Regions from separate parts of the Homo sapiens genome. Here all the other regions are linked to region 1. Evidence: promoter capture Hi-C in 16 types of primary human blood cells and fetal thymus (Javierre and others, 2016). All regions are on one chromosome and are shown on one strand. The core of a region is centred on a gene start or on the middle of the fragment in contact, and the rest is flanking DNA. Distances in the headings are between cores, read along the strand shown. Region 1 holds the start of MTMR14 (myotubularin related protein 14). Region 2 overlaps EMC3-AS1 (EMC3 antisense RNA 1). Region 3 overlaps FANCD2 (FA complementation group D2). Region 4 has its middle 4.0 kb from the start of IRAK2. Region 5 has its middle 14 kb from the start of FANCD2. Region 6 has its middle 19 kb from the start of THUMPD3. Region 7 overlaps EMC3 (ER membrane protein complex subunit 3).

Evidence for each region. The method cuts DNA at HindIII sites, captures the fragments that hold promoters and counts their contacts. A CHiCAGO score of 5 or more calls a contact.
Region 2: a fragment that was not itself captured here is called in contact with the fragment with the promoter of MTMR14 in region 1 in 1 of 17 cell types (neutrophils); the score reaches 5.9 in neutrophils.
Region 3: a contact is called between a fragment that was not itself captured here and the fragment with the promoter of MTMR14 in region 1, in 3 of 17 cell types (neutrophils, monocytes and total B cells). The highest score is 8.5, in neutrophils.
Region 4: a contact is called between a fragment that was not itself captured here and the fragment with the promoter of MTMR14 in region 1, in 1 of 17 cell types (neutrophils). The highest score is 5.9, in neutrophils.
Region 5: a contact is called between a fragment that was not itself captured here and the fragment with the promoter of MTMR14 in region 1, in 1 of 17 cell types (neutrophils). The highest score is 6.2, in neutrophils.
Region 6: a contact is called between a fragment that was not itself captured here and the fragment with the promoter of MTMR14 in region 1, in 1 of 17 cell types (neutrophils). The highest score is 7.6, in neutrophils.
Region 7: a contact is called between a fragment that was not itself captured here and the fragment with the promoter of MTMR14 in region 1, in 1 of 17 cell types (neutrophils). The highest score is 8.7, in neutrophils.

The regions. Positions count from the first base shown.
Region 1 is chr3:9,648,094-9,650,793 of GRCh38, forward strand. MTMR14 (myotubularin related protein 14) reads left to right here and starts at 1,412. Exons shown (of 19, transcript NM_001077525.3): 1 at 1,412-1,649. The coding sequence starts at 1,491. RefSeq lists enhancers at 1,007-1,236, 1,044-1,939, 1,226-1,395 and silencers at 1,267-1,376, 1,477-1,576. The HindIII fragment of the contact is 16,951 bases long and covers 1-2,700 here.
Region 2 is chr3:9,992,793-9,995,522 of GRCh38, forward strand. The region is part of intron 2 of EMC3-AS1 (EMC3 antisense RNA 1); the gene reads left to right. It also overlaps a transcript of EMC3 not described here and the pseudogene FANCD2P1. Among named protein-coding and RNA genes, the nearest start is that of EMC3-AS1, 7.3 kb to the left of the region's middle. The HindIII fragment of the contact is 2,206 bases long and covers 260-2,465 here.
Region 3 is chr3:10,031,233-10,033,950 of GRCh38, forward strand. FANCD2 (FA complementation group D2) reads left to right here. Exons shown (of 44, transcript NM_001018115.3): 3 at 1,600-1,740. Among named protein-coding and RNA genes, the nearest start is that of FANCD2, 6.2 kb to the left of the region's middle. The HindIII fragment of the contact is 752 bases long and covers 932-1,683 here.
Region 4 is chr3:10,159,594-10,162,293 of GRCh38, forward strand. No RefSeq gene overlaps it. Among named protein-coding and RNA genes, the nearest start is that of IRAK2, 4.0 kb to the right of the region's middle. The HindIII fragment of the contact is 1,059 bases long and covers 825-1,883 here.
Region 5 is chr3:10,011,080-10,013,779 of GRCh38, forward strand. It overlaps a transcript of EMC3 not described here and the pseudogene MARK2P2. Among named protein-coding and RNA genes, the nearest start is that of FANCD2, 14 kb to the right of the region's middle. RefSeq lists a silencer at 40-269 and an enhancer at 68-593. The HindIII fragment of the contact is 6,602 bases long and covers 1-2,700 here.
Region 6 is chr3:9,342,684-9,345,383 of GRCh38, forward strand. It overlaps a transcript of SRGAP3 not described here. Among named protein-coding and RNA genes, the nearest start is that of THUMPD3, 19 kb to the right of the region's middle. The HindIII fragment of the contact is 7,296 bases long and covers 1-2,700 here.
Region 7 is chr3:9,968,628-9,971,327 of GRCh38, forward strand. It overlaps EMC3 (ER membrane protein complex subunit 3), which reads right to left. Exons shown (of 8, transcript NM_001394674.1): 6 at 1,955-2,034; 7 at 1,092-1,174. Among named protein-coding and RNA genes, the nearest start is that of EMC3, 17 kb to the right of the region's middle. The HindIII fragment of the contact is 571 bases long and covers 1,098-1,668 here.

The DNA of each region.
Region 1 (2,700 bases), core at 162-2,661:
TAGGCATGTTAATAGCCTTATATTTTTTATGTATTTTTTTTTTGAAGTACAAATCTGTTGTGATAAATGCTTAAGTATTCACAGCTGAAATAATGTGATGTCTGGGATTTGCTTTAAAATAATTCCCTGGATGGGAAGGGACTGCTTAAACAGGATAGATAAGCAGATGTTGATTATTGTTCAAAACCAGTTAATGGGTACATGAGGGTTCATTATACTATTGTCTCCACTTTTGCGAATGTCTGAAATATTCTAATAATAATAATAATGAGAGGCTTCTCATCACAGAATTTCAAGGCAGTCGCTTCACCTCCCTGACTCCCAGTTTCTACCTCAATAAAATAGGGCTGATGATATAATGCACTGTACTCACAGGGATGTTGTGAGCAGCAGGGGGAGAAAGGGTTTTATGAAATGTTGTGTTTTTGTTTTTGTTTTAGAGACGGAGTCTCATTCTGTCACCCAGGCTGGAGTGCAGTGGCGCGATCTCGGCTCACTCTCCGCCTCCCGGGTTCAAGCAATTCTCCTGCCTCAGCCTCCCGAGTAGCTGGGATTACAGGCACCTGCCACCACGCGCGGCTAATTTTTGTATTTTTAGTAGAGACGGGGTTTCACTGCGTTGATCAGGCTGGTCTCGAATGCCTCACTTCATAATCCGCCTGCCTCGGCCTACCAAAGTGCTGGGATTACAGGCGTGAGACACCGCGGCCGGCTGAAATGTTTTAATATTGGTAACCACTGCCATTATGGTTTCTAGTACTAATTTGTTGCCTCCAAGCGTTCTCTCCTCCTCGCCCTGTAATTTTTTTTTTTTCTTAAGACAGAGTATTGCTCTGTCACCCAGGCTGGAGTGTAGTGGTTCGATTTCGGCTCATTGCAACCTCAGCCTCATGGGTTCAAGCGATTCTCCTGCCTCAGCCTCCCAAGTAGTTGGGATTACAGGTGGGTGTCACCATGCCCGGCTAATTTTTTTATTTTTAGTAGAGATGCGGTTTCACCATTTTGGCAGCCTGGTCTCGAACTCTTGGCCTCAAGTGATCCGCCCGCCTCGGCCCCCCAAAGTGCTGGGATGACAGGTGTGAGCCACCACGCTCGGCTTCCCTGTAATTGTTGATTCCACTTTTCCTCTGGTTCTTTTCAATGGTTCCTTCCTGCTACCCCCCTCCCCCGGCAGCCCAATGGTTGAGCCCGGCTTCCCCGGGGGAAACCCCTTGGGGCGGATCACGCGGTATCAGCCAGTGGCCTCCCTGGTGGATAGAAGGATCGCTCTGCGCCGGGGGCGGGCCAGTAATCGTAGGCGGGGCGCGGGTCCAGAGCTCCGATTGGCCAGAGTCGGAGTAAACATCCGGCGGGACGGGGCGGGGCCGGAAGTGGAAGTGGAAGTAGAAGGCGGTGGCTGAGGCGGTTCCGGAGGTTCTAGTGTCGGAGTTGGGTGCAGGCAGGTGCCATGGGCCCGCTTGAGGCACACTGAGGGGACGCGGGGCTGGGCCATGGCCGGCGCTCGGGCCGCCGCCGCCGCTGCCTCGGCGGGGTCCTCGGCCTCTTCAGGCAACCAGCCGCCTCAGGAGCTGGGGCTTGGGGAGCTGCTGGAGGAGTTCTCCCGGACTCAGTACCGGGCCAAGGATGGCAGCGGGACCGGCGGCTCTAAGGTGAGATTGGAGGTGCGATGAGCTGGGGAAGGCTCCTAACTTGGGAAGTTACAGAGGAAAGGCTGAGGCCAGGGGTCAGAAAAAGGTAGGAGTGGTACCTCGCCGCTGAGGAAGAGGAGAGAGAGAGAGGAGTTCTCCAGGGTCTGTATCCGGAGTATAAGAGTCGGTCTTGACAACCATAAAAGGAGGAACTGGGGTCAGAATGAGCCCAGCAAAGAGGTCCTTCTTGTTTGAGAAGGGGTCTGGAGGTGAGAGATCAAGCTGAGGGGCCAGGTTCAAAGATCAGAGAGGAGGACCTAAGGAAGGTCTATTCCCTGCTTCAGGTGCCGTAGGATGAGTTGTGTCAGGGAAAAAGCCCCAAGAAAAAGCTAAGAAAAATAGGGAGACGATTCCTCGGGGTCAGAGGTCAGAATGGAGCCAGGAGGTGAACCCAGTGTGCTGCCCCCTTATAAGGTCTCAGCATGACTTAGGCCCATCCCTTTCCTTCCCCTATAGAGCAGGAAGACAACCCACACTCCCTTTCAGTTCCTTTATCTAAAGCAGGTCTCCGTTCCTCTTTTTGCTCCCTTTGGGATTTCCACCCAGTCGTCTTATCGCCAGACCTGGAGGGCTTCCTGTCAGCTCAGGCCATCCCCACCCTAAGCACTGGCTGGCAGTGCGGTGGGAATCTTGCCGACCCTGCCATCTCATTCCCCCACGTGGTTTTGGCAGCTTTAGCACCAAGTTTTCCAGTGGAATTCTGTTCCATCCTGCACCACAGAACTCTGATTTGACCTCAGAGATTACCGTGAGTTGCTATTCTGTAGTTGGCATCTTGTAGTCTCTGAAGTAACCCAGGGAAGACTTCAGTAAGGATTGGACTTCCTCACTCTCCAAATGGCCAAGTAATTTTTCCAAGTATAGTCTGGGGACCACCTGTTTAATGATCATCTGGGGTACTTTTAAAATTTGTGCTTATGGGATACTTTGTGAAAACAGAGATTCCTTAGTCCCACCCAGTCCTACCAAGTCAGAATTTCTGGGGGTGGGATCCTGGAATTTGCTTTTTTTT
Region 2 (2,730 bases), core at 113-2,612, 340 kb after region 1:
TTTAATTAGAGGAAAAGCTGCTGTTTCATTGTAGCAAATGTACTGATTGGTTAACTGTTTTTCTATTATTGCATATTTATTGACCTGGTGATGCTTTTCATCATCTATAGCACCAATACTCAGACAAAGAAGTACATTGAAAGGGTGCTAAGAAATAAGATTCGATCAGGCTGCATTCAAGAACAGCTGCTCCAGAGTACATTCTCTGTTCATTACTTAGTAAGTGTCAGAGACTATTGATTTTTAATCTAAAACAGAAAGCTTTACAGCTCTCATGTAAAATTTCATCTTATTTCAGTCCATTGTTCAAACCCATTGAAATTTTTGAATTTTATTTTTGCATTAACATTTTAATTGTCTATCTCAATGCAGTTTGCAATTATGACAAACTAGCCTTTCGTATCCTATTCTAAGTAGCTTATAAAAACCTTGAGGGGAATAGGACCAGGCTGTAGAAACTAGTAGAAACGTAAATATGGACCTATTTGAACTATCACTCTTTGGCCATTCAAAACTGGATTTTAGGTGATAATTCCTCTGGAAATGTAAATTATTCAAACTGGAATTTATAAACTGGGAATAATGTTTTGCTGGCTGAACGTTCAGTATATTAACAGTATAGAACTTAGAAAACTGGATGGGCCAGTAGTTTGGGGTTTGGGTTAGGAGCTAATGAGAATACCTCATTGGATCTTACATTTTATATTTAGGAATAGATTTAATGTTTGTCTTATTTCATCTAGCAGTTCTTTTCTGTGTTTATTTCTGCCAGTTATATGTGTTTTGGGCTGTAATTTTCTAGACACGGAAACCATATGTAATTTTTCATTGCATTTTCCCCAATAAAGCATTATACCCAGCTTACTACTAAATGTAAGATTTTTTAAAATTATGGTATCAATAAGGAAGCTATGTTTATTAACTGGTTATTTACTCTGGGTCCATTAATGTCTATATATTGCATTATTGATAGAGCATGATCACTTCTTTTAAAAAAGTCAGTTTAGTTAGCATTGAACCTTATAGACCAACTTCAAATTATAACCAAGGTGGAACATCCCTGGGGGGTCGTGTGATTGCATGAGGAAACCGGGATTTAGAAGATCTGGCCTCCAATCCCAAATCGAGCAGATAGGAATGTACTATTAGGCTTATAACTTAACTTCTTTGAGCTTAACAGTCAATTAATATCCAAATGTGGACTCCCATTGATCCTGAGAGAAAACTCAGAATGGTGAAGGATTATTCTGTGTAAAACAAAGATTAAGATTTCTTAAGTTAAAATGAGAGTTGGGGAAGAGAAGTCTGATCTGACATTCCAAAAGGATAAGCAACTCTTAGGTTGTGTACTGTTTCCTACAGCTTCTTTTCTCTCTCTACTCTTCCCCACTCAAGGTTCTTAAGGATATGTGTTCATCCATTATGTCGCTGGCTCAGAGTTTGCTTCACTCTCTAGACTAGAGTAGAATTTCATTTGGCAGTCTCCTATACAAATAATGTGTTTATGTTTTTTGACACATACTGCCAGCAGGTATGTTGAAATACTTATTTTGGCAAGGAGGGAACAGAGGAAGGAAGAATCATCTAATGCTTATTTTTTGTTGGTTGGAACTTACTGAAGGGAAAGTAGCTCTGAACTGGGTCTCAGGAAAGCTCAATTTTACTCCCAGCCTTGATGAAATGAAGAGATTTGACTGGTGGATCTAACTCTGTGTTCTGAACTCTAAAATTCTCTTGTCTGAAATTAAGATACAGATTTGGTCTATTTCAAAACATGAGACACTTTTTTTTTTTCAAGACAGAGTTTCGTTCTTGTTGCCCAGGCTGGAGTACAGTGGCGCAATCTCGGCTCACTGCAACCTTCGCCTCCCGGATTCAAGCAGTTTTCCTGTCTCAGCCTCCTGAGTGGCTGGGATTACAGGCGCGTGCCACTATGCCCAGCTAATTTTTTGTGTTTTTAGTAGAGACAGGGTTTCACCATGTTGGCCATCCTGGTCTCGAACTCCTGAGCTCAGGTGATTCACCTGCCTCGCCCTCCCAAAGTGCTGCAATTACAGGCATGAGCCACCGTGCCTGGCCGAGACACATTTTAATAGCATATATCCAGAGAGAGAGGACTGTATTTGTGGAAAATGTTTATGAAAGCAAGTAAAGCACAGTGTCTTATTTTGTATTTGTACATATATTCTTCCTATTAGCAATGTTAAAACGCATCTGAATGGAACTTTTAAAATGAAGATTTGTAAAAAAAATTGTAAACATTTAAAATAGAGCAGTAGTTGCAGCTGACATGAGGTAGCTGTTGTAATTGAGAATTCTGTTATGACTTATGGAGTGACGGTATAAAGGGAGAATGGCATCTAAGACATTTCTGGACCCTCTTAATGTCTTAGAGACACTGTCATGATCCATGTTTGCTTGGAAACATGCAAATCTAGCCTGTACTATATGGAGAAAACCTTTAAAGCTTTTAGCTCCTTGAGTGGCATCTTTTTGAGGAATTTCAACTGATCTTGTACAACCTCAACCTAAAGGGTAAAATTTAACCCATATGGGAAAAAGAAAGAGGAAAACTACGCCCAGGAGCAAAATCAGGAGGGCTTAGGTAGAGCTCACTGATAAAATATGGGAAATAGGTCAAGACGGGATGGTCAAGTTACACTGGCATATTCCTAAATCTCCTGAAGCCAGCATTACTAGATAATAGATGATGGGACTGGGTTGATTGTG
Region 3 (2,718 bases), core at 58-2,557, 380 kb after region 1:
GTGGCTCACGCCTGTAATCCCAGCACTTTGGGTGGCCAAGGCGGGCAGATCACGAGGTCAGGAGATTGAGACCATCTTGGCTAACATGGTGAAACCCCGTCTCTACTAAAAATACAAAAAATTAGCCGGGCGTGGTGGTGTGCACCTGTAGTCCCAGCTACTGGGAGGCTGAGGCAGGAGAATGGCATGAACCCGGGAGGCGGAGCTTGCAGTGAGCCAAGATCGCGCCACTGCACTCCAGCCTGGGCGACAGAGCAAGACTCCATTTCAAAAAAAAAAAAAAAAGAAAGAGGGAGAGGAATTGAAGAAGGAAAAAACAAAATGGCATCATTAAGGGAGAAGAGTAAATTTTAAACTTGGCTTCAAGTACCTGTTTGTTTCTTGTTTCTTATTTCTTTTTATGGGTTGAAAGTCTTGGGATTAAACCTATCTGAGCATTGTAGTCAAAGATATGATACAAAGAACCTTCCCCATTCTGTCTACCCTTTATTCAGATCATTGAGTCTCAAATTTGGTGTGTATCAGGATTATTATCTGAAGAACATAAAAAATTCGGATTCCTAGGTCCCATTCCCAAGATTTTGACTCAGTAACTCTGGTATATGGCATGGAATATGCCTTTTTTTTCCTTTGAGACAGAGTGTCACTCTGTTGCTCAGGCAGGAGTGAAGTGGCGCGATCTGGGCTCACTGCAACCTCTGCCTCCCGGGTTCAAGTGATTCTCCTCCTCAGCCTCCCGAGTAGTTGGTATTACAGGCGCACGCCACCACACCCAGTTAATTTTGTATTTTTAGTAGAGATGGGGTTTCACCACGTTAGCCAGGCTGGTCTTGAACTCCTGACCTCAGGTAATCAGCCTGCCTCGGCCTCCCAAAGTGCTGGGATTACAGGCGTGAGCCACTGTGCTGGGTCGGAAATATGCATTTTAATAAGCTTCCCAGGGATTCCAGTACAGTGGTTTGCAGGCAACAGCTTGAGAGACACTGGCTAGTTTAGTATTTGGGTGGAAAACATTTCTGTGGGTTATTCTTGTTAGGCACTTATTTGTTTGAATTTATTTTTTTAGAGATGGGGATTTCACTCTGTCACCCAGGCTGGAGTGCAGTGGTAATATCATAGCTCACTATAGCCTCAACCTCCTGGGCTCAAGTTATTCTTCCGCCTTAGCCTCCGAAGTAGCTGGGACTACAGGTGTGCGTCTCCTCACCTAACTAGTTTGTGTGTGGAGGGGGGGAATGGGGGTGAAGGGGGGGAGATGGGGGGGTGGTCTCACTTTGTTGCCCAGGCTGGTCTTGAACTCCTGGCTTCAAGTGATCCTCCTGCCTTGGCCTCCTAATTTGCTGGGATTACCACATGAGCCACCTTGCCTGGCCAGAAATGGCACATTTTGAATTCTTCAAATGAAAATAGGTGAAAATAATTCTATTTGTTTGTTTTGGAAGCCACTATTGCTGAAGACAGTTTATTTCACTACAGCATCAATCCTAGTATAATTTTTAAGGACACATCAGTTTTCCTCTCATGATTATTATTCCTGGGTTTAAGTTTTAATTTTTCCTTTACTATTTGCCATATTCTTGAAAATTTTTCTATTTTCAGAAACCAGGAAGCAACCACTTTCCAAAAAGACAAAGAAATCTCATATTGCTAATGAAGTTGAAGAAAATGACAGCATCTTTGTAAAGCTTCTTAAGATATCAGGAATTATTCTTAAAACGGGAGAGAGTCAGAATCAACTAGGTAATATTTTAATCTAATTTTATTCTCTGGGTTTAATGAAATAGTTCAGGACTGAATCATGGGTTTTCTAAATAGAGAGGCAATGAAGATTAGAAATCAGAGGGCCATCCATCTTGAGACAAAGTTGAAATTGCTTTTTAGAAAATGGTACAGTCAGGCCGGGCGCGGTGGCTCACGTTTATCATCCCAGCACTTTGGGAGGCTCGAGGCAGGCGGATTGCCTGAGCTCAGGAATTTGCGACCGGCCTGGGCAACACGTCTCTACTAAAATATAAAAAATTAGCCGGGCATGGTGGCATGTGCCTGTAGTCCCAGCTGCTTGGGCGCCTGAGTCAGGAGAATTGCTTGAACCCGGGAGGTGAAAGTTGCAGTGAGTCAAGATCGCACCACTGCACTCCAGCCTGGGCGACAAGAGTGAGACTCCATTTCCAAAAAACAAAAATGGAAAAAGAAAATGGTACAGTCTTTGGTCCTCATTACTATGTCTTAAGTAAAGCATTTCTCATCCTTTTATTAGAAAAAATATTATATATTATTTATTTTGTGTTTTCTTATGAAAAAATAAATATCCAGAAAGCAGCTGTATCAGTGTCAGAATAATTTCAGAAGAAAATTTATAAAGCCATATAAGATTCTGTTTTGGGGGAGCAGATTATTCTATCTTGCTAAGGTTATGGCAGGTCTTTTTTAGAACACTTAGTGGCTATCTGCTATCAAAGCTAAGTCTTTTTTTTTTTTTTTTTTTTGAGACGGAGTCTTGCTCTGTCGCCCAGGCTGGAGTGCAGTGGCGCGATCTCTGCTCACTGCAAGCTCCACCTCCCAGGTTCACACCATTCTGCCTCAGCTTCCCAAGTAGCTGGGACTACAGGCGCCCGCCACCATGCCTGACTAATTTTTTGTATTTTTAGTAGAGACGGAGTTTCACCGTGTTAGCCAGGATGGTCTTGATCTCCTGACCTTGTGATCCACCTGCCTCGG
Region 4 (2,700 bases), core at 104-2,603, 510 kb after region 1:
TCTTTCTTTCTGTCTTTGACAAATATCACATGCTATCAGAGAAACCAATAAAGATATTTTTGTTAAAAAAAAATATAGCCGGGCGCGGTGGCTCATGCCTGTAATCCCAGCACTTTGGGAGGCCGAGGTGGGTGGATCACCTGAGGTCAGGAGTTTGAGACCAGCCTGACCAACATGGAGAAACCTCGTATCTACTCAAAATACAAAATTAGCTGGGTGTGGTGGCACATGCCTGTAACCCCAGCTACTCAGGAGGCTGAGGCAGGAGAATTGCTTGAACCCAGGAGGCAGGGGTTGCGGTTAGCCAAGATCACACCAGTGCACTCCAGCCTGGGCAACAAGAGCAAAACTCCGTCTCAAAAAGAGAGAAAAAAAAAGAAAAATATATGCAAAGTGCATAGAGAAGCTTTATTATTCTCCTTTCATCAGTCTTCCCTCCTGCTCCAGCTTTTTTTTTTTTTTTTTTTTTTTTTTTGATATGGAGTCTCACTGTGTCCCCCAGTCTGGAGTGCAGTGGTATGATCTTGGCTCAGTGCAGTCTCCACCTCCCGGGTTCAAATGATTCTCCTGCCTCAGCCTCCCAAGTAGCTGGGATTACAGGTGCGTGCCATCACGCCCAGCGAATTTTTTTGTATTTTTAGTAGAAACGGGGTTCCGCCGTGTTGGTTGGGCTGGTCTCGAACTCCTGACCTCAAGTGATCCACCCACCTCGGTCTCCCAAAGTGCTGGGATTGCAGGCATGAGCCACCATGCTTGGCCTCTGCCCCAGCTTTCTGATATGACTGGTTCTCAACTGTGCCAGCACATATTAGAATTATCTGGGAAGCTTTAAAAAACAGTAGTGCCTGAGCCCCACTCCAGAATAATTGAATCTGTCTCCCTGGAGGTAGGGCTAGGCATTTATACTTTTTAAAAGCACCCCAGATGTTTCTACTGTGCAGCCAGGGTTGCAAACCACTGACTATAATTTCAAGGGAATTAAACTTGAACAGCTCAAAATGACGTAAGTGTGTAATTAATTACATTCAGCCTCAATAACTGTTTCTAACTGATCCTGGTGGGTGTTGGTCATGGAAAATAGCCAGAGGAAGAAATTAACTGCAAGATCAGAGGAAATTTCTTGTGGTGAGGCAGTATAACACAGCAGAAAGAGCATTTGCTTTGGGTCAGACTTGAGTTGCATCCTGTTGATGCGGGACAGGCAAGCCCCCAAATTGGGGTTTAGCCTGGGAGGGTTCTTAGCTTCACCCAGAAAGGAATTCCAGGGCCAGCCAGTGGTGTTAAATAGCACCTTTTATTGAAATAGCAGTGTGCAGCCGCAGCAGAGGTACTGCTCCTTGCAGGGTAGGGCTACTCCATAGGCAGTGTGCCCAGAGTAGTGGCTCAGAGGCAGTTCTACAGTCACATTTATACACACTTTTAATTATATGCAAATTAAGGGGCAGTTTATGCAGAACATTCTAGAAAGGGGCGGTGACTTCTTGGAGTCGCCATGGCAATGGTAAACTGACAAGGTACACTGGTGGCAGTGTCTTATGCGAGGTACTTCCCACCACACCTGTTTTAGCTAGTCCTCAATTTGGTCCGATGTCCCAGCCATTCCTTTCGAGTCGAGTGCTGCCCCCTACCTCACTGTCACTTGGCCAACTTGGCCCAGTTACAATTGACTTCAGCCTCAGTTTCTTCATCTGTAAAACAGAAACAATAAACCTTTGCAGGGTTGTATGGATTACAGATAATGTATGCTAAATGCCTGCTAGGTGAGTTGGTAGGTGAAGGGCAACCATTAGTAATAGCAAAGACCTTACTTTGAAGAACTTATTCTAAAGAGTGGTAACTGAGATGTGTCCCTGTGATGACCTGCTCAGGCCCAAAATGACTCAAGCTTCTCTGGAAGACAGAATCCTAGGACACAGATCCCAAGCCCTGAGGCTGGGGTGAGAAGGAATTGCGGGAAGGGCCTGAGGATGCAGCAGAGAGAGCAGTGGGGGCTCCTCTGCCTTCCAGGATTGACCAAGGCTGAATGTGAAACTTCCGTGGTCTTAAAGCCTCACCCCAGGGAAGAGGCCCTGTGGCACTGAGGGAGGAGCTCTACACACACGCTGCTTGCGGAAGAGAAGGAGAAGCAGGTAGGGGACTCTGCAAAAAGAGAAAAGGAGAAAAAGAAGAGGATCTTTATTCTCTTTTACCCCCGTGTGCCTGGGATGGAGATGCTTCTCCACCCAGCCTATGGCAAACAATCATTACAGTTCCCAAGTCCACCTTCAGCCACTGCTGAAAACACAGGACTTCACTTGAAAAGTAGTCTCAGAACACTGAAATATGTCCCACTTTCAACATCAAGGAGGACATAATAGTAATCCTTTACTGGGCTCAGCACTTCACAGTTGATCTTGAGCGTTTTGGAGTCCATTTAGGCTTCATAACAATCCTTCCAAGTGGCTGCAGCAGGAGATCCAGTTTCCAAAAGGGAAAACAGAACTGGCTCAAAGGACTAAGAGCCGGAGAGTGGCTGAACCAGGTCTCCAAACTTGATAGGACTCCAAGGCCAGTGGGTGCCTTTTCAAGACCACTAATGACAGCTACCATTTTTTGGGCACATTCTCTGTGCGAGGAAAGCCCTGTAGTAGGTGTTCTATATAGGCTACATAATTTGATTTATTCCACTCCCCTCACAACTCTAAGCAGTAGGAAGGAGCA
Region 5 (2,700 bases), core at 1-2,500, 360 kb after region 1:
GAGAGTGCCCGCCTGTGTTGGGGCAGCAGCGCCTGGAAGGAGGCGGCCCCGGCCGCCCGCAGAGCTCCGCCTCCCAGGCCGCGCTCTGTGTCTTTGTCCAGGCTGGGAGGGGCCGATGGCCGTTAAAAGCCCCGCCCGCCGCCGCTCGCCGCCGCCTGGCCCCACCCCCGTATCCATGGAGACCCGACGCCGCCGGACTGCCTGTCAGCTGCAGCTCGGTAGCCTGGGGCCCGCCCCGTTCGCCCGGTCTGTCTTCCGCGGGCCATGCTACCCAAGCTGACTCCGACTGGAGTCACTGGGATACCTGTCCACGCCTCCTCTCCTGGGCCACTTCCCTGCGGGGCGGGCAGTAGGGCAGGGCGGGGTGGGAATCTGTTGTACTCAGGGAAGGGAATTGCCCCCAGGCCCAGAGAGTTTGGAGCCTGGGGTACTGCCACCAACAGCCCAGAACTCTCCCAGCTGGGCACCACCCCCCCACACCCGCCGCCAGAGTCTTCCTGCAGCAAGGCTCTCTTCAGGAGGGGCTGTGAATGTTTCCCCGGGGTGGGGCTAAGCCAGAGCCCAGAGGTTAGCCCCTGGGGCACGGATCCCCCAGGTCACTCACTTCCCACGGGCTGCAGTGAAGGAGGCTCTGAGGGGAGGATGGCCGGTTTTTCCCCTGCAAGGGAAGGCATTCCTGCTCTGGGGACTGCCTCCCTCTCCCTCTTCTGCCAGCCACCGCAGAAACTTGGCCAAGCTGACCACTCTGTCAGTGATCTCTGCCAGGGAGGCTGAAAAACATCCAGCCCCACCCGTGGTCCCTTCCTGCCTCAGGCTATGTGACAGTATGACTGCCCACCTATTTCTTCGTTTCCACTGGAAACACTAGTAAAACAATTCCTCAGCCTCGACCCCAGGGAGTGGCCCCCACTAAACCAGCTGACGTGGGACCCCTGGGTCAATGCTGGCCAGAAGACACTGCTGACACCATACAGAGACCCTGGACACCTATGCCCCCTACAACCCTGGTAATGGTGGCCATGGGATTCCAAGCAGCACACATCTCGGAATCAATATTCTCCCCAACAAAAAATACATATGTGATTATCCCATGGCCACGTACCTAATCCTGGGGTAGAGAAAAGTACAGAGGAGGAAGCGCTCCATCATTGGAGCACAGCCCTTCCTCCTGGGGGTCCCACCTGTTCTTCCCCATCTGACAAAGTCTGCCTTCCTTGTGGAACCAAAGAGGGCTCAAAGGGAGCCAGCTGTTCCCACTTTTAATTTTTGACTGCCCAAGGACGGCGAGAAGTGAAGGCAGAAGACCACCATTCCTGCTCAGAACTCTTCCTGGGCTGGGGGTACCAGTGCCCTGCCATGGACATATGGGGCCTTGGCGTCATACTCTACCATATGGTGGCCGGGGCCCTACCCTTCTATTCAGGGAACACGATGGACCTCAAGAATCAAATTTTCACAGGAAGCTACCACGCCTCACCATTTTTTTTCCCTTCAACTTGAAAGATTCATTCAAAAGTTACTAACACTAGAACCCAGGGAGTGGCCCCCACTGAAAGAAGTTTTGAGGGACTGGTGGGTGAACTGTGGTTAGGAGATGCCACGGACAACATACAAAGAGCCATGAGCCAACATACCACCCAGCTCATGGTGGCCATGGGATTCCAGGCCAAGAACATCTCTGTGCCAATCAAAGAAAAAGCGTTTCACTATCCTATGGCCACCTACCTCATTTTAGAACAAACAAAAGAAGCAGTCCACCATCAGACCATGGTCCCTTCCTCCTGGGGTTCCCACCTGTCCTTCTCTATCCACTGAAGTTTCCACCTTCTCTCTCCCACTGAAGCAGGCTCACAGCGAGCCAGCTTGTCCCATATTCAGCATTCAGCAGAAGACCACTGTTCCTGCCAGTGCCCCTGCCAGCCTGCAGAGGAAGCCGGACAGTTTTGGCAAAGCCCCCCAGCGTGACGCTGTGGCCTCTACCTCCACCCACACCACCAGCAGCAGTGGCAGAGACCCAGAAACGTCCCTTGCCCAGCGACAATCATCACAGGAAGCCAGTGTTGTCCAAGCTGGACAGCCTGAGGCTGTGACATCAGCCTAGCCAACAAGAAACTGGGGCTGCCGCAGCCGGACGCAGTGGCTCATGCCTGTAATCCCAGCACTTTGGGAGGCCAAGGCGGGAGGATCACGAGGTCAGGAAATCGAGACCATCCTGGCTAACATGGTGAAACTCCATCTCTACTAAAAATACAAAAAATTAGCCAGGCTTGGTGGCGGGCACCTATAGTCCCAGCTACTCAGAAGGCTGAGGCAGGAGAGTGGCGTGAACCTGGGAGGTGGAGTTTGCAGTGAGCCGAGATTGTGCCACTGCACTCCAGCCTGGGGGACAGAGTGAGACTCCGTCTCAAAAAAAAAAAAAAAAAAAAAGAAAAGAAAAGAAACTGGGGCTGCCACAGGGCTGCCGGAGGACGCATCTTTCACTTCTATTAAGATTTTGCTGCATGTGTCCACCGAAGAAAAGGAGGAATAAGATTGCTCCAACATAGTTGCACAGATGAAGACAAAAATCAGCTAGGTGGGGTGGTGAAGCCTCACTTCTTGCATTTTACTATTTACTATTTATTCTGTCTCTTTTTTTTTTTTTTTTTGAGGCAGAGTCTCGCTCTGTCGCCCAGGCTGGAGTGCAGTGGCACAATCTTG
Region 6 (2,700 bases), core at 120-2,619, 310 kb before region 1:
AATAAAGTGGCCTTCAGTGCCTTTACTTAGACTCTTGAGGGCTTTCCCTACCTGAAAAACAGTGAATTGAAGATCAGATTTGAGAATGGCTTCACTCACCCTTGAACTTTGGTTACAACTCCATGAGGAGGCAGAAGAACCTCCAGAGTGTACTCATTCGCTTTTATTATTCTCATTTCCTGTGCCTGTTCTGATTACTTGCAGGTTTCACAGAAAGCTGAAATGAAAGCAACCTCGAACTTGTCCAACTGGTCATTCTTGCCAGGCTTTCAACCCAGACTAGCCCATTCTGGGCTGTCCGGGCCCACCATGCCTCTTCGATCTTCTCACTGGACTCCTTGTCCCCTGGCATCCCCTGCTCAGCTCTTAGTACATCTCCCACAAGCCCTTCAAACTGCACACATGCAAAATTAAATTTATTGTCTTCTTCCACAGTCTGATCCTCCTCTCATATTCTCCTTTTTGCTCAACTGTATGTCCATTAACGTAGCTAAACAAGCTGGAAAGCCAAAACCCCAAGTTTCTTCAAATGCGTATTTGAAGATACTTTAAGGATATGGAAGAATCATGCTGGCTCTTTGAAAGACCAATTTTATTATTGACTTGAAGGTGTGGTATGTGTTTATAGTCCTCGTAGGGCTGTTGAATATGTCTTAAATCAGCTTTTCCTTCTCCATCCACACCATGACCTTGGTTCTTACTTACATTGCCTTTTTCCCGAACTACTACAACAATCTCTCATCCAGTCTCTCTCATTCACATTCTCATAAATGCTGCCAAAGTAATCTTTTGTTTCAAGTATTTGTAAATACTTTTTTCTTTTTTATAGAAGTCATATATGTTTATTGTAGACATTTCAGAAAAATCCTTAATAGTACAAAAACACAATTACTAGTAGCATTGTATTATATATACTTCTAGCCATTTTCTATGAATAGGCATACATCTTTATATTAAAAAGATTATATTATGCATACTCTTATATGCTCTACTTTTAAATTTTTTGAGACAGGGTCTTTCTCTGTCACCCAGGCTAGAGTGCAGACACACAATAATGGCTCACTGCAGCCTTGACCTCCCAGTCTCAAGCTATCCTCCGACCTCAGCATCCCGAGGAGCAGGACTACAGCGCACAGTATCATGCCCAGCTAATTTTTGTATTTTTTGTAGGGACAGGGTTTTGCCATGTTGCCCAGGCTGGCCTCGAACTTCTAATCTGCCTAAAGTTCTAGGATTACAGGCATGAGCCACCACACACAGCCTGCCCTACTTTTAAAAATTATAATTAAAAATTAGTCTTGGGAACAATTTTTCTGTATCAGTAACACTCATTATCATTTTTATAATGAAAATAGCGTGGGCACGGTGTCTCACACCTGTAATCCCAGCACTTTGGGAGGCCAAGACGGGCAGATCACCTGAGGTCAGGAGTTGGAGACCAGCCTGGCCAACGTGGTGAAAGCCGATCTCTACTAAAAATACAAAAATTGGCTGGGCACGGTGGCTCACGCCTGTAATCCCAGAACTTTGGGAGGCCGAGGCGGGCGGATCACCTGAGGTCAGAAGTTGGAGATCAGCCTGGCCAACATGGTGAAAATCCGTCTCTACTAAAAATACAAAAATTAGCTGGGCATTGTGGTGGGTGCCTGTAATTCCAGCTATTCAGGAGGCTGAGGCAGGAGAATCGCTTGAACCTGGGAGGCAGAGGTTGCAATGAGCTGAGATCGTGCCACCGGACTCTAGCCTGGGCAACAGAGACTCCGTCTCAAAAAAAACCAAAAATAAAAACAATACAAAAATTAGCCAGGTGTGACGGCAGGCACCTATAATCCCCAGTTACTCAGAAGACTGAGGCAGGAGAATTGCTTGGAGCCGGGAGGCGGAGGTTGCAGTGAGCCGAGATCACACCACTGCACTCCAGCCTAGGTGACAAAGTCAGACTCCGTCTCAAAAACAAAAAACAAAAAAAAAGAAAGAAAGAAAACAGGAGATTTTATCCAATGGAAATAGCATCATTTGTTTAACCAACCCCCTACTACCTTTCTATATTTCCTAATATTAAAAAAATATTGGCCAAGCGTGGTGGCTCATGCCTGTAATCCCAGCACTTTGGGAGGCCTAGGCGGGTGGATCACGAGGTCAGGAAATCAAGACCATCCTGGCCAACATGGTGAAAAACCCTGTCTCTACTAAAAATACAAAAATTAGCTGGGTGTGGTGGCGTGCGCCTGTAGTCCCAGCTACTCAGGAGGCTGAGGCAGGAGAATCACTTGAACCTGGGAGACAGAGGTTGCAGTGAGCTGAGATTGCACCACTGCACTCCAGCCTGGTGACAGAGCGAGACTCCGTCTCAAAAAAAAAAAGCCAAGGAGGCTACATATTTAAGACTCTAAACCTGTTGCCAAATACTCTCCCAGAAAGGTCTTATCCAATACTTCTACCAGTAGAATGATCATTTTAATGTACAAGCCAGATTGTGACTCAAAGACTGGGAGAACTGTTGCAGGTTCAAGAACAGAAAAGCAGGCCAGGCATGATGGCTCACACATGTAATCTCAGCAATTCGGGAGGCCCAGGCAGGAAAATTGCCTGAGGCCAGGAGTTTGAGACCAGCCTGGACAAAACAGGGAGACACCTGTCCCTGCAAAAATAAAAATAAACAGCCAGGGGTGGTAGTCCCAGCTACTCTGGAGGCTGAGG
Region 7 (2,700 bases), core at 133-2,632, 320 kb after region 1:
TTATCAGGCTGAGAAATTTCTCTCTTTTTTTTTTTGAGACGGAATCTTGGTCTGTCATCCAGGCTGGAGTGCAGTGGCACGATCTTGGCTCACTACAGCCTCCGCCTCCCAGGTTCCAGTGATTCTCCTGCCTCAGCCTCCTGGGTGGCTGGGATTATAGGCACATGCCACCGTGCCCAGCTCATTTTTGTATTTTTTTTTTTTTTTTGAGACAGAGTTTTGCTCTTGTTGCCCAGGCTGGAGTGCAATGGTGCAATCAATCTCAGCTCACTGCAAACTCCACCTCCTGAGTTCAAGCAATTCTGTCTCAGCCTCCCAAGTAACTGGGATTACAGGTGCCCACCACCATGCCCAGCAAATTTTTTTTTTGTATCTTTAGTAGAAAAGAGGTTTCACCATGTTGGCCAGGCTGGTCTTGAACTCCTGACCTCAGCTGACCCACCTGCCTTGGCCTCCCAAAGTGCTGGGATTACAGGCGTGAGCCACCGCACCTGGCCCATTTTTGTATTTTTAATAGAGACAGGGTTTCACCATGTTGTCCAGGCTGGTGTCGAACTCCTGAACTCAGGTGATCTGCCCACCTTGGCCTCCCAAAGTGCTGGGATTACACGTGTGAGCCCCTGTGCCTGGCCGGAACTTCCCTTCTCTTTTAGTTTCTATCATGAAACACAGTGAGATTTTGTCCCACAAAAATCATACTAAATTTTGCAAATTCTAGAACCTTTTTGTGAAAAGGCTCTTAGTATTGTTTTTTTAATGCAATTTATATCTGATGTCTATGGGGTTCAAAAAGGTTCAAATTATTCTAAATGTTTACCTGGCACCTCCGATTGGATTATTTTACAGCATCATTGATAGTGTGGATTAAATTCCAGTGAGCATTTAAAAACCAGTAAAAGCACCAAGAATTTCCATTTACTTAATAGATGATTCTGTCTCAGGAAAGAGAGACGTGTAAACTATGTTTTTACTAAGTTTAAATTAAAACGATGGAACCACACAACACTCCCTTCAAGGAAGCTATTTTTAAAATAGCTCTTGGTAACACCTTTCAGAGCATTGCTGCAGCTTTGAAAGGTGAAGGAGTATACCTTGAAAGCTTTGTTTGTGTCTGCGGGCATGGCCATGGCTGCTCCCGTCATCTGCTCCTGCATCATTCGTGATTGGTCAGCGGCTGTAGCATAAGACACACTTACATGAGTGCCAGGACTCAGCAAGCACCCCAGCACCCAAGGGGAAGAATGGGCTTCACACAGATTAGAGAACTGGACTACAGCCTCACTGGCTGGCCCTGTCACCCACTGGCTATGTGACTCTAGGAAAGTCACTTTGTGTCTCCTGAAAAATGGGGACAGTAACAGCAAAAGAGAGATCACTAAAGGAAGCTCTAAACTTTATTTCAAATTTCAACAATAACAGCCACCAGTTATTGAGCAACTACTGCATGCCAAGTACTTCACTAAGTGCTTTGCATATTTTTCCTCATCTGTTCCTAACAACCCCACAGGTTAACTAATAAAGTCCTTATTTACAGATAAGTAAATAGAGAATTCGAAGTTAAGTAACTTGTTAAGTAACTTTTCTGAGGTCCCAGCCAGTAAACAAGAGAGCAAGGATTAGTACTGGCAAGGGCTCTAGTCAATGAACTGACAAACCAAGCCTTCTTTAAGCTTTAGGTTCACAGGCTTACACTGCTGGTGCTGGATCCCTCACATGATGGTATCAGACTCTGGGGAATCAAAATACTGTCCCAGTCATTGCCAGAGAGAATTGAGATCTTCAGTTTGACCCCCGGAATTTTTAAGACTCTTTCAGAATACCTCAGAAACTTAAGGAAGGAAACATTTTATTTGACTATGGTAACAAACAGCACAACCTACAAGACTTTTCTGGCTCTAATATGGATGATTCATCTATGGAAGTATTTGCTTAGTAAACCTGACATGCTTCTTACCATTATCTTGGCCCAGAATCAGAGAGTAAATGCTCCGAAGCCCAAATACATTGAGGAAGTACCAGGATGCAGAACTCACCCTGGCAAAGCAAAATGAAAATGGTGTGGTTAGTTATTATATCAGAGAGTAATGCAGTTCCCACTTCCCTACCACCCAAAGTTGTTCAGTGTTTGTAAAGAAGTCACCTTGGATGGGCTATATTCATCCAAAGCACAACCACAGAAGAAATACAAGTTGTTAAAGCAGTCTCACCAATACAGAACTATATTTCAAAAAATCCAAAGGTGACTCCCATTCTGAATTCCATTCCCTAGAGGAAATCACAAGTGTTGGTGTGTTCCATACTTTTTTTTTTTTTGAGACGGAGTCTCACCCTGTTACCCAGGCTGGAGTGCAGTGGCGCAATCTTGGCTCACTGCAACCTCTGCCACCTGGGTTCAAGAGATTCTCCTGCCTCAACCTCCTGAGTAGCTGGGACTACAGGCACACACCACCATGCCTGGCTAATTTTTATATTTTTATTAGAGATGGGGTCTCACCATGTTGGCCAAGCTGGTCTCGAACTCCTGACCTCAAGTGATCCGCCCACCTCAGCCTCCCAAAGTGCTGGGATTACAGGCGTGAGCCACTGGGTGTGTTCCATACTTACAAGAAGGGATGAGACATGGATTTCAGGAAATACAGTACCGAGGACTATAGCTACTGGGAGAGCCATTCCAAGTTTTGAACTATATCACTGAGGCTT